2 separate regions of the Homo sapiens genome follow, and region 2 is linked to region 1. Evidence: promoter capture Hi-C in 16 types of primary human blood cells and fetal thymus (Javierre and others, 2016). All regions are on one chromosome and are shown on one strand. The core of a region is centred on a gene start or on the middle of the fragment in contact, and the rest is flanking DNA. Distances in the headings are between cores, read along the strand shown. Region 1 holds the start of DPYD (dihydropyrimidine dehydrogenase). Region 2 has its middle 130 kb from the start of DPYD-AS1.

The links. The method cuts DNA at HindIII sites, captures the fragments that hold promoters and counts their contacts. A CHiCAGO score of 5 or more calls a contact.
Region 2: a fragment that was not itself captured here is called in contact with the fragment with the promoter of DPYD in region 1 in 1 of 17 cell types (erythroblasts); the score reaches 6.4 in erythroblasts.

What each region holds. Positions count from the first base shown.
Region 1 is chr1:97,919,780-97,926,662 of GRCh38, reverse strand. It overlaps DPYD (dihydropyrimidine dehydrogenase), which reads left to right and starts at 5,629. Exons shown (of 23, transcript NM_000110.4): 1 at 5,629-5,779. The coding sequence starts at 5,741. RefSeq lists a silencer at 5,424-5,823. The HindIII fragment of the contact is 4,374 bases long and covers 2,730-6,883 here.
Region 2 is chr1:96,966,854-96,973,056 of GRCh38, reverse strand. No RefSeq gene overlaps it. Among named protein-coding and RNA genes, the nearest start is that of DPYD-AS1, 130 kb to the left of the region's middle. The HindIII fragment of the contact is 1,490 bases long and covers 2,407-3,896 here.

The sequences.
Region 1 (6,883 bases), core at 4,380-6,879:
TTAAAAACAGAGATCTGCCTTTTAAGTGCCACAACATGCTAAATTGCAACGGTGTTAATATATGGTAGAAATGTACTATTTTGGTTTCTAATGGCACTTATGATTACCACCCAGGCTAGCATGCACAGGAAATGACTGAGCCCATCTCCAGAAATCACTTGCCTTGGTTGATTTTCACACATTCAACCAAGTGAGTATATGAATATGCAATTACACATACATTGCAATCAGAGTAATACTTCAAAATACACACTTGATCATACCATTCTTCTACTTTAAAAAACTTTCATGGCTTCCCATTTCTTATAGAATGAAGTTCAAAACCCTAAACAAAGACTAAATAAAACATGGCATGCTTATCTTGCAGCTTCACCCTGGGTCACTCTCCCACTAGTTGCTTAAACTCCAGCCATCAGGGCCTTCTTTCCCTGTTGGATATCTCTGACCCTGGAGCTTTTACACTTTGCTCTCCTTTCCCGGAAGTCTTTTAATAACCTCCTTTTGCCTTTTTAACTCTTACGTTGTCCTTTAGGTCTCAGCAGTAAGGCCATTACCTCAAGGACTCCATTGATTTCTCAGGGCCCTCTACTATAACAGCCTTTTGTTTTTCATTGATGTTGCCATTTGCAGTAAATATATTTTTGTGTGATTATTTTGCAAATGTCCATCTCCCTAACTAATCTGCAAAGCGCAGGAGAATAAGAGTTCACTTTTATTTTGCTCATCACGGTACCTCTAGTGTTTTCCACTGAACCTAGCATGTGTTCGGCACATAATTATCAGTGATAAGAATGAATGAACAAATACAGAAACATCTCAGAACAATGAAATAAATGATGAGATTTAAAAATATGGGTTAATTTTTATGTCCAGGCATGATGATAATTAAGCATGTACATTTTACATGCAGTATAGACCATTTGTTAATTAATATACAGAGGTAACAATGCAGCTTAGGTTCACTAGGAAGCAGACTTTGCAATAGAAATGTGTGTGCAGGAAGTATATTCATTATTCAGTGCTGTCTGTATGAGGCCCAGTGAGAGCAAGGAAATGAAGCAGGATGGGCAAAGGGAGAAGCTGAACTCTACAGACGTCCCAACTTATGTCCCAGCTAATCCCTTGAGGGACCTCTGAAGGTGGGATGGCCCCTAAAAGGTGTCTTGAATTGAGGCAAGGGCCCAGCCTTTAAATTCCCACATCAACTGTCATTGGATATCTGCTACCCCAGGAAAGGGCTTGAACTTCCAGTGAGATGTCTCTCTTAGCCAGGGGCAATTTCCAGAGAGGGACTCAGCAGACAGCTGTCAACCACTAACATTCCCAGGAGCTGAGAGAATGAGTGCCTCAGTTTTGAATGGGTTGGGGGATGGGTGGTGATCTGTGAAGCACATCATAACATCTGCTACAGATAACCAAAAGGGAAAATACATACTTTAAGGCAAGGATATGAAGAACTTGCTCAAATGTAAATGAACTAGAAATTATAAAACAATAAAATTCCAGCAATAAAACAAGAAACCACTTTAAATGCCAGTTCTTGGAATTGTGACAATATTAGATGGTGAGAGGAAACCAACAAGGCCAAGGAAAAGACCCCTAAGTAGTAAGGCAAATTATTTCAGGGGACATTCATTCTAAAGGATGTTTTCCCCCACTTTAAGTTAGATAAGTCTATAAACTTTCCCCTTACACTGCATTTTACCCAAAATCTTTCATAGGCAATCATGCATTAATGACATTTTTCTAGAACGTGGGAACGTGGGCATTGAAAGATTATATCTTTAAATTTGTAATATTTAATTTATATGACACTGTTCAATTTACAAAATACTATTGCATATATTTTGACATCTGACTCTCATAGTAATCCATTCAGTTAAACCACTCATTTAAAATCACTAAGCGGCAATTTTTGTTTTTCATTTAGTGGCTAAAGGTTTGTGGTAACAGAGACAATGTCTCTATTGTCCACTGAGATGTCACTAATGCTTATGACAGTGTCTGAAACAATTGTACTCAATAAATAATTGCTAAATAAATTTATGGGAGAGGTTTGTAGTTTCTCTGTGTTATCTGTGCTTTTTATGGCATTTACATAATACATGCTGATATACTGCATATCTATATATGCAATATGATAGACATGTAGTTGAGCACATTATACTGTTTGTTCCATGAAATATGAACCAACGTATTCCTTTTGGTCTTTTTAACAGGAATGCTGGAAATATTTGGGCCTAACTGATCTTTAGTCATTATCCTACTGGTCAATATGGGTAGGAATTAATTTGGCCCTTGAAAATCAGACAGCGGAAAAAATGCACCTCATGATCATTCAGCCTCTGACTTTTTGGGAGGAAATCATTTTCAAAGAAATGTCCCCCACCAAAAAAAATCTCTTAATGCTACACTGCAAAGGGAAAATAAAGGCATATGGAAATCTGAATTTTTGTTGTGTTTCTAAATTTGTAATATTGAATAACTTTTTAGATGTGAAATTAAAGATGACTCATAAGTCCTACTTCTGACTTTGGTAGTAATAATATTCATTTATGTACTGTAAACTATTAGGTTCAAACATAAGCTGTTTCTCCAAAGCCTACAAAAAATTAATGTGGAACACCTGATATTTCACTGTGCTTCCAGATGGAGGGACAGCTTGACAAACGCCATCATAATTTACAACTTTTAAAAAGTGTGGTGCAAATGCATTTGCAGTAAAAGCTTTAAACAGCTTGCATTATTTACAGGTACAACTGTGCTTAATGTGCAATTTCAATGAATTTAAAATATTATTAGATTAAATCACTGATCACAGAGCATAGGTGTGGCACGTGAGCAATGTGATTAGATGCCTTAATTAATATGTCAGAACAGGATACATCTGTTTGATGAAGTTGGGGGGGATGGTAAATAGCATTTAAATTTTATATTTGATTATTGACTATCACCGATGAAACTCTTATCTTTGGAAAACCACCGTATATTGGACTTATCCTCTATAGTTGTTTAGGAGAATTATAACAGAAAACGAATATGAAAATACACTGTATAACTCTTAAAGATAACTTGGATTCTTGTACACATAAATTAACTATCAATTGCTAACTGATAAGATGTATGTTAAAGTGTAACCTGAAAGAGCAATAAGCCTGTATCCCTGTAAGTTAGGAAATTGAACATTGAACCTGACTGATTAAATTGGGGAAGAAATCATATGTATTATAATTATATATATTATATTTGTAAATTTATATATGTTTATATGTGTATATCTTTTCTCAATATATACATATGTGTGTATATGTATGTATGTATTTGGGTGTTTATATGTGTATTTATATATATAGACTGATAGAAAAATAGATATAGATAGATTTATCTATCTCTCTATATCTCCAAGAGGATCTAGAGTAAGTGGGTAAGGTGTGGTTGTAGGGAGATGCAGGAACATCTGACTTTGGAACATTACTCCATGAAAAGATAAGTAGTTATTTTGACCCATTTTAACTACAAATTCATTGATAGATATTGTGACCTATTTCTCAGCAGTAAGTAGGACAATGAGAATATGTGATGCAGAGAAACTAAAGTTTCTAAAATGAACTGCCCAGTGTATAAACGAATGTACTCTGTTCATTCAATCACCAAGTGTTCTTGGTCTCTTATGCTTCAGTCCTGAGCTAGGAACTGAGTATCCAGTAAACAATAAAAGTACACATGGGCCCCCTCTTCCTGGAGCTTCCTCTCTAAATAGAAGACATATATTAAATGAATCACATTCAAATAAATATTTAAACAACATTTGAAAAGTCTATGAAGACGAAATATAATGAAAAAGACAGAGTGGGTGTAATTTTGTTGGTGATGGGGTTAGATCATAAAGGCTTCAGTGAGACCTAAATGATGAGTAGAAGGGGAAGAAGAGCTCCAAGTGGAGGGCAATGTGCAAAGGTAGAGAAGTGGATGGAGGATGAGAAGATTACCTTGTGGTTGGAACATAATGAGTCAGGGCAAGAGTGGCGGAGAAGCGGAGTAGAGCAGGTTATTCAGCGGTTACTAGGGAGTTTGTATTATATTCTGACTGCAATGGACCATTGAAGGATTTATACCATGGGTACCTGGGTGTGTGGATGTATCGTTGTATGGCATGAGCCAGTTAATACTTTCTAAAGCTCAATCTGGTATGGATATGAGGTAAGAATAGAAGCTAGAATACCAGTAGCTTGGACCATGGTGGATGCAGCAAAATGGAGAAATGAATGATTCAAAATCTATTTAGGAGGTTGACTTCTGAGAGTTTGGGCATAGATTAAATGAGGCAATAAGGATAAAGGAGTCAAAGATGATTCTAAGGTTTCCATTTAACTTTCTAGTGTCTGTTAATATTTGATTCAAGAAAAATGTATCTGTCTTTTAGTAATTTCCAGGTTCTGGAAGGTAATCTGATGGTTTGTTCAGAGAAGCCTTCTCAACCACGCAAGGTACCCATACCCTAGTTATTCTGTCCTATTTTTCTTTTATCTTACAAGCAGGCATCACATTTTCTTACTTGCTTATTTTGAGTATAATCTCCATGACAGTGATGTGTATTCTTGAAGACTATATCCGGAGAACCTAGCACAGTGTCTGTGTCTGGCATATTGAAAATGCTCAATAAACATATTCGTTGAATAAAACGATGAATGGACTAATGAAAAAATAATAAGGGAGAAATACTTGACTCCAAGGTGTCACTACCTAGCCAAGTGCATGAAGGAGTGCCGCAAATGTCCTAACGGAAGTAGAAAGTGTTATGGTAGAAGAGAGGTGGGATGCATCTAACAGGGGTGGGGGGGGGGCGGGGAGAAAAGGAGAGAGGTCTGGAGTACACATATCCTCAAAAAACGAGGTGAATGTTTTCTGGATTGGGACCAACTCTACAGGAAATCTCTCCCTTCTCCTCAGCAAGCTCTAGAGCAAAAACGAAGAGCAACTTTTCAAAAGAGTTTCACGTTTTAGAATAAAAAATATTTAAAAAAATAACCATTAAAATGAGACTTTCCTGCAAAAAGACAACCTTGATTATGTACCACCTGCAGCACTTCCTGTATGCTGCTGCGGGCTGTGGATGTTTTTGCTCGCCTCCCTCCCCTCCCCGCTGGGGCTGTGAACTCTCAGAAGACCGGTGCTTTGGTATCCTCCACTGCAGCTCAAACCCCGCCCACCTACTTGGTGGATGGATGGAGGAACATCTACTATTTCATCCTTGAGGAGTTCCTGAAAATGCAGTTGCCCCTCAAACAATGTATCTACATCTCGCGGGGTTTCTGTGGAAGAAAAGAAAAAGTGCAAGTTGTTGCTTGGAGCGCGGACTGCTTTTACCTTTGCCTGGGGATCCCTCCTATCTGGCCCCGCCTGCCTAGCTCTGTTTTTAGCAGTTTAGAGATTAAAGGCCAGTCCCCAGAGCGGGTGCTCTACTCCCTCCCTCCCTTCTGCTTGCAGGCTGGGGCGCGGAGCGGGCTGAACTGGGAAGGCCGGGCTGCGGCTGCCGTGCCTGGCGCGGGAGCCGCAGGACCGAGAGCGCAGCCCCGCCCCGGGGGCGTTGCCGCCCCGCGCCCGCTCCGCCCCCGCGCCGCCGGCCCTAGTCTGCCTGTTTTCGACTCGCGCTCCGGCTGCTGTCACTTGGCTCTCTGGCTGGAGCTTGAGGACGCAAGGAGGGTTTGTCACTGGCAGACTCGAGACTGTAGGCACTGCCATGGCCCCTGTGCTCAGTAAGGACTCGGCGGACATCGAGGTACGGACTTCGCGCCGGCTCGTCGGTGGTGGCGGGGTGGTGGGGAGTGCTCTGCGGGTAGGTGCCGGGGAGGCCCCCGCGGCCCCCGCACCCCGGAGAGTGAGAGACGCGGGAAAGTTTCCCCCGTGGGAGCTCTGCGGGGGAGCGGAGGAGCGCGGAGCCACAGGCCCGCGTGGGCAGGCGGGGAGCTCAGGGGAGGACTTTCCGCTACTGGAGGGGTTGCCCTTTGCGTCGGGACCTGTTTACTTCGGAAGAGATTTCAGGAAGCCTGTCTTGTCCTCCTCTGAATGTCAGTGACTGAAGAAGCACTGGAGTTCCAGAGAGGTGGACTCTAGGGGGTAGGAGTGCCCATTTCCCACACGTTCTACCCCTTCACCTCCTGTATGTCGTTTCTGGACACCTCCACTGCCCCCATTTCCAATAGCTGAATCCTGCTATTTGCAAAGGTGAAGCATAGAAATAAAACATCTGTGTGTCAGCTGTAGCAGTCGCCTCTAGTCATAGTATTGTTTATGAAATAATTTAACATGGAGAGAATGGAACGAAGTATTCAGAACATGAAAAATGCAGTGCCCTCAGAAAAACTAACTGTATTTTTCTCTCCTCTCAACGGTTTTTGATTCCCTCTTGCACTCCGTTTCTGTTAAAAAAAATCTTTTTTTATGTAAATAAGGTCCTACCTGAAACGACATGGCATTTCCTTTCTCTCTAGTATCTTAATATATGCGATGAAAAGGATTTAATTATCAACAGTGATTTTACACATACTAAACCTAGGTCAGCACTTTTGAGCTAAGACAAACTGATTTTTAGTTTTCTGTTTTGTTTGGGGCTTTTCTTTATTTGAGTCTTCTACTCTGGTAGAAAATTATGTGTGTGTGTGTTTTCTTTAGAAATAACAAAATTTTCCTTTCGTCAGTCCTTTTGGCGGCTTAAGTAAAAGTTTTGCAAACCACCTGTTTGCAAAATAGCTGCTTTTGCCACATTTTGCCTCCGTAATTGAAGAAACTTTATATTCTGGGAGGAAGTAGTCCTGTTTTCTCCAGGCTCCATAACTTGGTTTGAAAAATCATTTTAGTAACAAGAGCCAAAGTGTATTATGTG
Region 2 (6,203 bases), core at 1,902-4,401, 950 kb after region 1:
CACGATCTTGGCTCACTGCAACCTCTGCCTCCTGGGTTAAAGCAATTCTCCTGCCTCAGCCTCCTGAGCAGCTGGGATTACAGGCGTCCACTGCCATACCCAGTTAATTCTTGCTATTTTTTTTTTTAAGTAGAGATGGGGTTTCACCTTGTAAGTCAGGCTGGTCTTGAACTCCTGACCTCAGGTAATCCACCCGTCTCAGCCTCCCAAAGTTCTGGGATTACAGGTGTGAACCACCACACCCAGCCAATTTTTTGTATTTTTAATAGAGACAGGGTTTCGCCATGTTGGTCAGGCTGGTCTCGAACTCTTGACCTGAGGTGATCTACCTGCCTCGGCCTCCCAAAGTGCTGGGATTACAGGCATAAGCCACAGCACTGGGCTAACAAGAGAGGTCTTAAATGTCACCTGGGTGGGAGGGAGGGAGGGAAGCATTCTGGGATCAAGGGGATACAGGGTTCTACCAGGGCAGCAGATAGAGAGATGCAGGGAAGAGGTTTGCGACAGCACTTGTTCACTCTAATGCCTTATCATTCCCTGCCTCTTAAATGAAAATCCCACAACTGCTCTCTCAGTTCTCAGTGAAACCACACTACTTGGTTTGGTGTTGAGTTTGTGGTTATAATTTTGGACGAGAAAGCACTAAGCTGTCTGACTAAACAGTTTTCATCATTTTCTTCAGTATTTACAAGGTTGTGCGTGCAGATACTGAATAAACAGACACAGGAGTGAGTGTCTAAGAGAAAAGTACATATTGCAATTGTTTGTTTTGGAAAAGTAATTTCCTCTATCAGTTCATTTTCATCAATTTTATCAATTCACTTAAGTTGCCTAATCCAAATGATACGCCACATATTGAAGCAGAAATGGAAGGGTTGGGTGTTTCGAATCTCTTTTAGTCCTCCGTATTCCTGCACTAAAAATCCCAGGCATTGCCAGCTACAGACTTGACTCCATTTTCATAGCTCTCAGTTTGGGATTCACGAGCCTATTGTGTTACTGAGCTGCATGGAGAGGAAAAAGCCATGTTCATCCCTTCAAGCTGTCTGTAATCATTATGTGATGCGATGTCTCACCCAGGTTCTGTGACAATATGTTGCACAGGAGTTCCTAACAGGAAAACAAGGGAAGCTTTCCTGTATGCTGCTAGAATTGGTGAATATTCCCAATATTTTTTAAAAAGCAAGGTCTAATCAGAAAATATATGATTCCCTTTCTTGACAGATTGATACCCAAAGCAGATTTCACAGATATACTAATTTTAACAAATCCATCTTTGGAAATTTTTTATTTACAGAACTCATCGCAGCCTCCTCTTAATGTAATGAGATTTCATAATGAAGTCCAAATACAATCTGGTAGAGGAAAAGGGCATGTAACACTGATTCTAATAAGCCTGACTAAAATCAATAATGTTGTTAGTTTCCCTGAAACCAGCCTGCATTGGCTCACGGAACTATGTTCTGCCTAGAGAACAGTATTAGTGGTTTATGTTATATTGGGTAGATTTCTTCCATAGGAGGAAAAAAGATAGAAACTTAAAGAAATTAAGAAATGTTTTAAAATGTGTCTTTAGGCTTCAAATGACCACAAATTTGTTGGCTTCTCTCTTTTAATCCATGCTTGCTTTCTGTGGAAATTGCTTGATGACATCCTTGGTACCTGCTGGTTTCTCTGTGCCTATTTCTGTATCGTCCTTACTGCTGTCTCCTTTCCCACTTTCGAGGTCTCACGAGTAGGAGGTTGCTTACAAGTGTGTTTTGAGGAGGGTGTACAAAGAGAGCCCTGTATCTAGAAATCACTGTTAGAGACCAAAATCTCAGCAATACAGACATTCTTTCACATGAAGGCATTGTCTGGTTAAAATGCTAACACCCATGGTAGAGTTGGTGGAATTTAAAATGAAACAGTTAAATTTTGATTGTGGAAAGTAAAGAAAAAGGCCTGGAGGTCCACCCATCACTCAAGAAATGTTTGGCAGAGGGTTCTAAACATCCGGCGAAGGTTTACAGGCAGGAGGGCAGTTTCATGGGCACAGGAGAAAAGTGCAGAGAGAGGAGAATGGGAGAGGGGGAGTGAGAATTTGATTCATCTTGATAACAGTATTGAGTGTTGTCTATCTATGAAGCAATTGTCCAGTGCTTTGCATTTATTAACTCACTAAACCTTCAAATAGCTCTATGGGGTAGATACTATCATTGTCCTTACTCTACAAATGAAGCATCAAAGACCACAGTCATGTCTGTGGTTAAGAGGAACTGTGGTTGGCGATCCTCTAGGTTCTATCTCTAGCCTTCCCCTCTGTATGGAATTTCTTGCCTTCATGGCTCATCTACTCTTCTGGTGTTAATAGCCACCTCTGTGTTGTTGACTTCCAAATCGGCACCTCTCTTTCTAATCCAAGCTTCAGAGGCTGTGCAGAAACAGTAACAAAACAGAAAATTCTTGCTGTCAAGTCCAATGACCCCCTACTCCTGGTAAGATTTATAGGCAAGTAAAATCAGGTTTATTAATTAAGTCACAAAGAGGGCTGTGTTGCCTGAGGGGGGCTCTGTGTTGGGCATAATGAGTACATATACTGGTTGATTCTTTGTTTGAAAATATCCCTCAAACTTTATGTCTTAGTTAAATCTACCTAAATAGAAATCCTCCTTTGCCCCTCAAGACTGACTCTCTGAATCGCTCTCCCACTGCATAGAGTTCATAGCCCTAAGCAATTGCCCTAATTTTCCAGGCCCTAGGTTTGCCTCAATTCCATTCTCACCAGGTGGTGCAGCAGGCAGGTATCTGAGAAACCCCATGTTCATAAAATTTGAGTAGAGCTTCTTGTGACCGGTTCATCTGCCAAGGGCCAGCCCACATCTTATGTCTATTTGTGCACTGGACTTCCCATAGAGCTTATTTATCTGATGCATATAATGCACCTTAAAATTGTTAGTTAGCAAATTGTTCACATGTACTTGACATGTTTCTCCAAATACACTGTAAGTACATGGACAAAAAGCACTACATCTTGTATACTTTGAAGCAGCTAGAATGGAGTAGTACTGTGGAGGTGCTCAAAAAGGGTAGATGAATTGGCTGATTACAGAGGGGGTCCAGGATCCTGAAACAATAGAATGAGTCCACTGATTCTGATTTTCTCCATCTGTGTGGATGTTAGCAGAGAGTTAAACAGATCAGAAAAAGCTGTCTGGGTTCTGGACATTGTCCTGAACCAGAACAGTGGAGTCTGGTTCAAATGCAATTAAACTTAACACAGGAAAATGCCAGAGAGAGAACAAAGCCAAACAGCCCAAGGTAGCTCCATTTTAATTTCATTTTTAAGCCTAAAATCAAATCAGTGGATGCTGAGTGCCTATTGTGTACAAAGAAGCCTGTGCAAATCGGCAGATACCTGAGAGAGCTGCCTTCTCTTAACCCAAACACCTTTCACGGCAGAGCACCGTACTTGGAGACAGAACAAGGGGCACCATATTCCATACATGCCTCAAAATCCAGGAACAAATTATTTAAAGTCTCTGAGCCTCATGGAATTTTTGATTTGTTTGTTCATTTGTTTTATGATGTGCTTGCATCTGAGTGGCAGGAAAGACTAGAGCCATCTTGCTTCTATGTGGAGCCAGAGAATTAAACCAACCCTGGAACTCAGAGGTGGTGCAGTTCAATTTGACACACAAGACTTCTTTGGTCTTTGCTATCTTCAAGAGCCTGTGCTAGAACCTGTGTTATGTGACAACGTGACTGCGACCCCCGAAGAGCAGCAGCCAACTTATGACTATGAACACCCAAGCTGAGGATGAATCAGTGCCCTATGAGGACAGCAGAGCAGAAATATGACAGCTAGTGCTTAGTACTGAGGACATCATTGTGCCCTGGACTGCCTATGTTAAGCTTCTTGTTGCGTAAGATAAATATTTTCCTCTGTGTTTAAGGCATTTTGATTTGCCCAACCCCTGCCTTAACACTGTCTGCAAAAGAGTGGAAAAAAAAATTCTCCTATCTAGAGTATTTCTTCTCTCCTGCTTTACTTAAATTTTTTTTACAAATATGTACATAGAACTTAAAAATATGTACACAGAATACTAAAAATGTGAGGTAATAATAATAACATGTTTCTCAGAGGGATGGTGTGAGGATCAGTAAGATAAATATGCAAAAAATACTGTAGACGCATTAATAATTTCCTTTATTATCTTCATCGTCACACCACCAGACTCCCTGCCTTTGCTCTCTTCCCAACAACACTGCCTGCCGTCAGTGGCGCGGAGTCAGGCAGGCAGTGCTACGGAGTCCCTTCAGAGCTAAGACAGCAGGGATGGAGAGAGCTAAGTGCTGTCAGTTATGTTGGCTAGTGAGGAAGAAGGGGGTTAGCTGCTTCACTCACAATTTTGGAACCGTGTAGCTATTCACCCTGTTTATGTAACAGATGCTAAATAGAAAAGAGATGTCAGCTTGGAAAGCAGAAACCCATACTAACCAACTCTGAAGTGAGAACTCTAATGAAAGCCAAAAATAACAAAGTTCTCTTCTCTGTGACAAGAAAGGGGTATTAAAAATTCAGGCAACCTGAAACAATCCATTCAAAATGGCATAAATCTTCCTGTAACATTTTACCATATTCCTGAATGCAACTTTTTCTACACTCACTCAGGCATGATTGTGATGGAAAGCAAGATGGATGCTATTTATAAACCAATGATTGAAAAAAAAAATTCAAAACTCTGACCGATAGACCAATGTATCCTATATTTTTAGTGGAAGCCATAGAAGGTATAGTTCTGTAGTAAAATACGTCATTTCAGTGATACACAGTTTACATTCATGTTTTTATTTTTTTAAATCATTATACATCTCCATAGGGTTTAGGTCCCCACTCCCCCCCAAGAAAAAGAGACAGAAAAATCACAAACATCCAAAGTTAAAAATTTGTATATAAATTGTATAAATTTAAATTTATAAATATAAATGTATATAAATTATATAAATATAATTTAAATGCCCTGTAAGTTTTCCTTTCAATAAAAACATTCTTACAATTTATATTTATGTAACCATCATTCAATAAGGCTAATATATAAAGATATTGCAAGGAACTCTTTCTTGTCAATGATCTGGAGATATTGCTATTGGCTTTTATTGGTAAGTTTACTCAGCAACAGTTAAGATATATACAGTCCATTGCATCTTTGTTTTGCACATTCTTGTTCAGGGTAATAAAAAGGGCCAAATTCCTTTAGTTAAACTTTTACAATGATATTGTGGCAATATATTTGAAATATTTGTCACTCTCCAAGGAATTATACTGATCAACATACAGCAGACTTTCAAATAAATCTAATTATTTGAATATGTTTATGATGGTTACTTAAATAATATTTAAATATGTAAAGATATGGCTACTTAAAAACGTTGCAGTGTTCCTGTAAAATCAAGGTTTGTTTGACTTTGATCAGGTCTCCTCCGTAAGAAGTTCGTACGGCAGTAGCAGAGCCAAGGGTCTTAAACATTCTGAAGCACCTCTTCCGTTCACCCGAAGATCTCAGGCATTCCGGATGCTGTCTCTCTGCTTTGGAATCCTGCTGAAATGAGCAGAAGTGTGCATGTGAGGAAAGTCAGGAAAGTTCATTTTATTCAGAAGTATGGAAAGGGCTGTGTGGATTTGTTTTAAAAGACCCGTCCTGGACATTGAGAGAGTGCTTTGAATTGGATATTGATATTTTCATTGAAGCTAGAGGAATCTGAAATGTTCACTGGAGTAAAGAGATTATGTTGTGATAACAACAAAAATAAGAAGCAGTGTTTCTCAGCCGGGCACGGTGGCTCACACCTATAATCCCAGCAATTTGGGAGGCTGAGGCGGGCGGATCACCTGAGGTCAGGAGTTCGAGACCAGCCTGACCAACATGGTGAAACCCCGTCTCTACTAAAAGTACAACTATTAGCCAGGCGTAGTGGCGGGCGCCTGTAATCCCAGCTACTCGGGAGTCTGAGGCAGGAGAATCGCTTGAACCCGGGAGGCGGAGGTTGCAGTGAGCCGAGATCGCGCCATTGCACTCCAGAAAGCAAGACTCTGTATCAAAAAAAAAAAAAAAAAGGTGTTTCTTACTACTGTGGCTTATGATGTAATGAAAACATGGTTATTCGCCACCATGGCACACGTTTACCTGTGTAACAAACCTGCACGTCCTGTACATGAATCC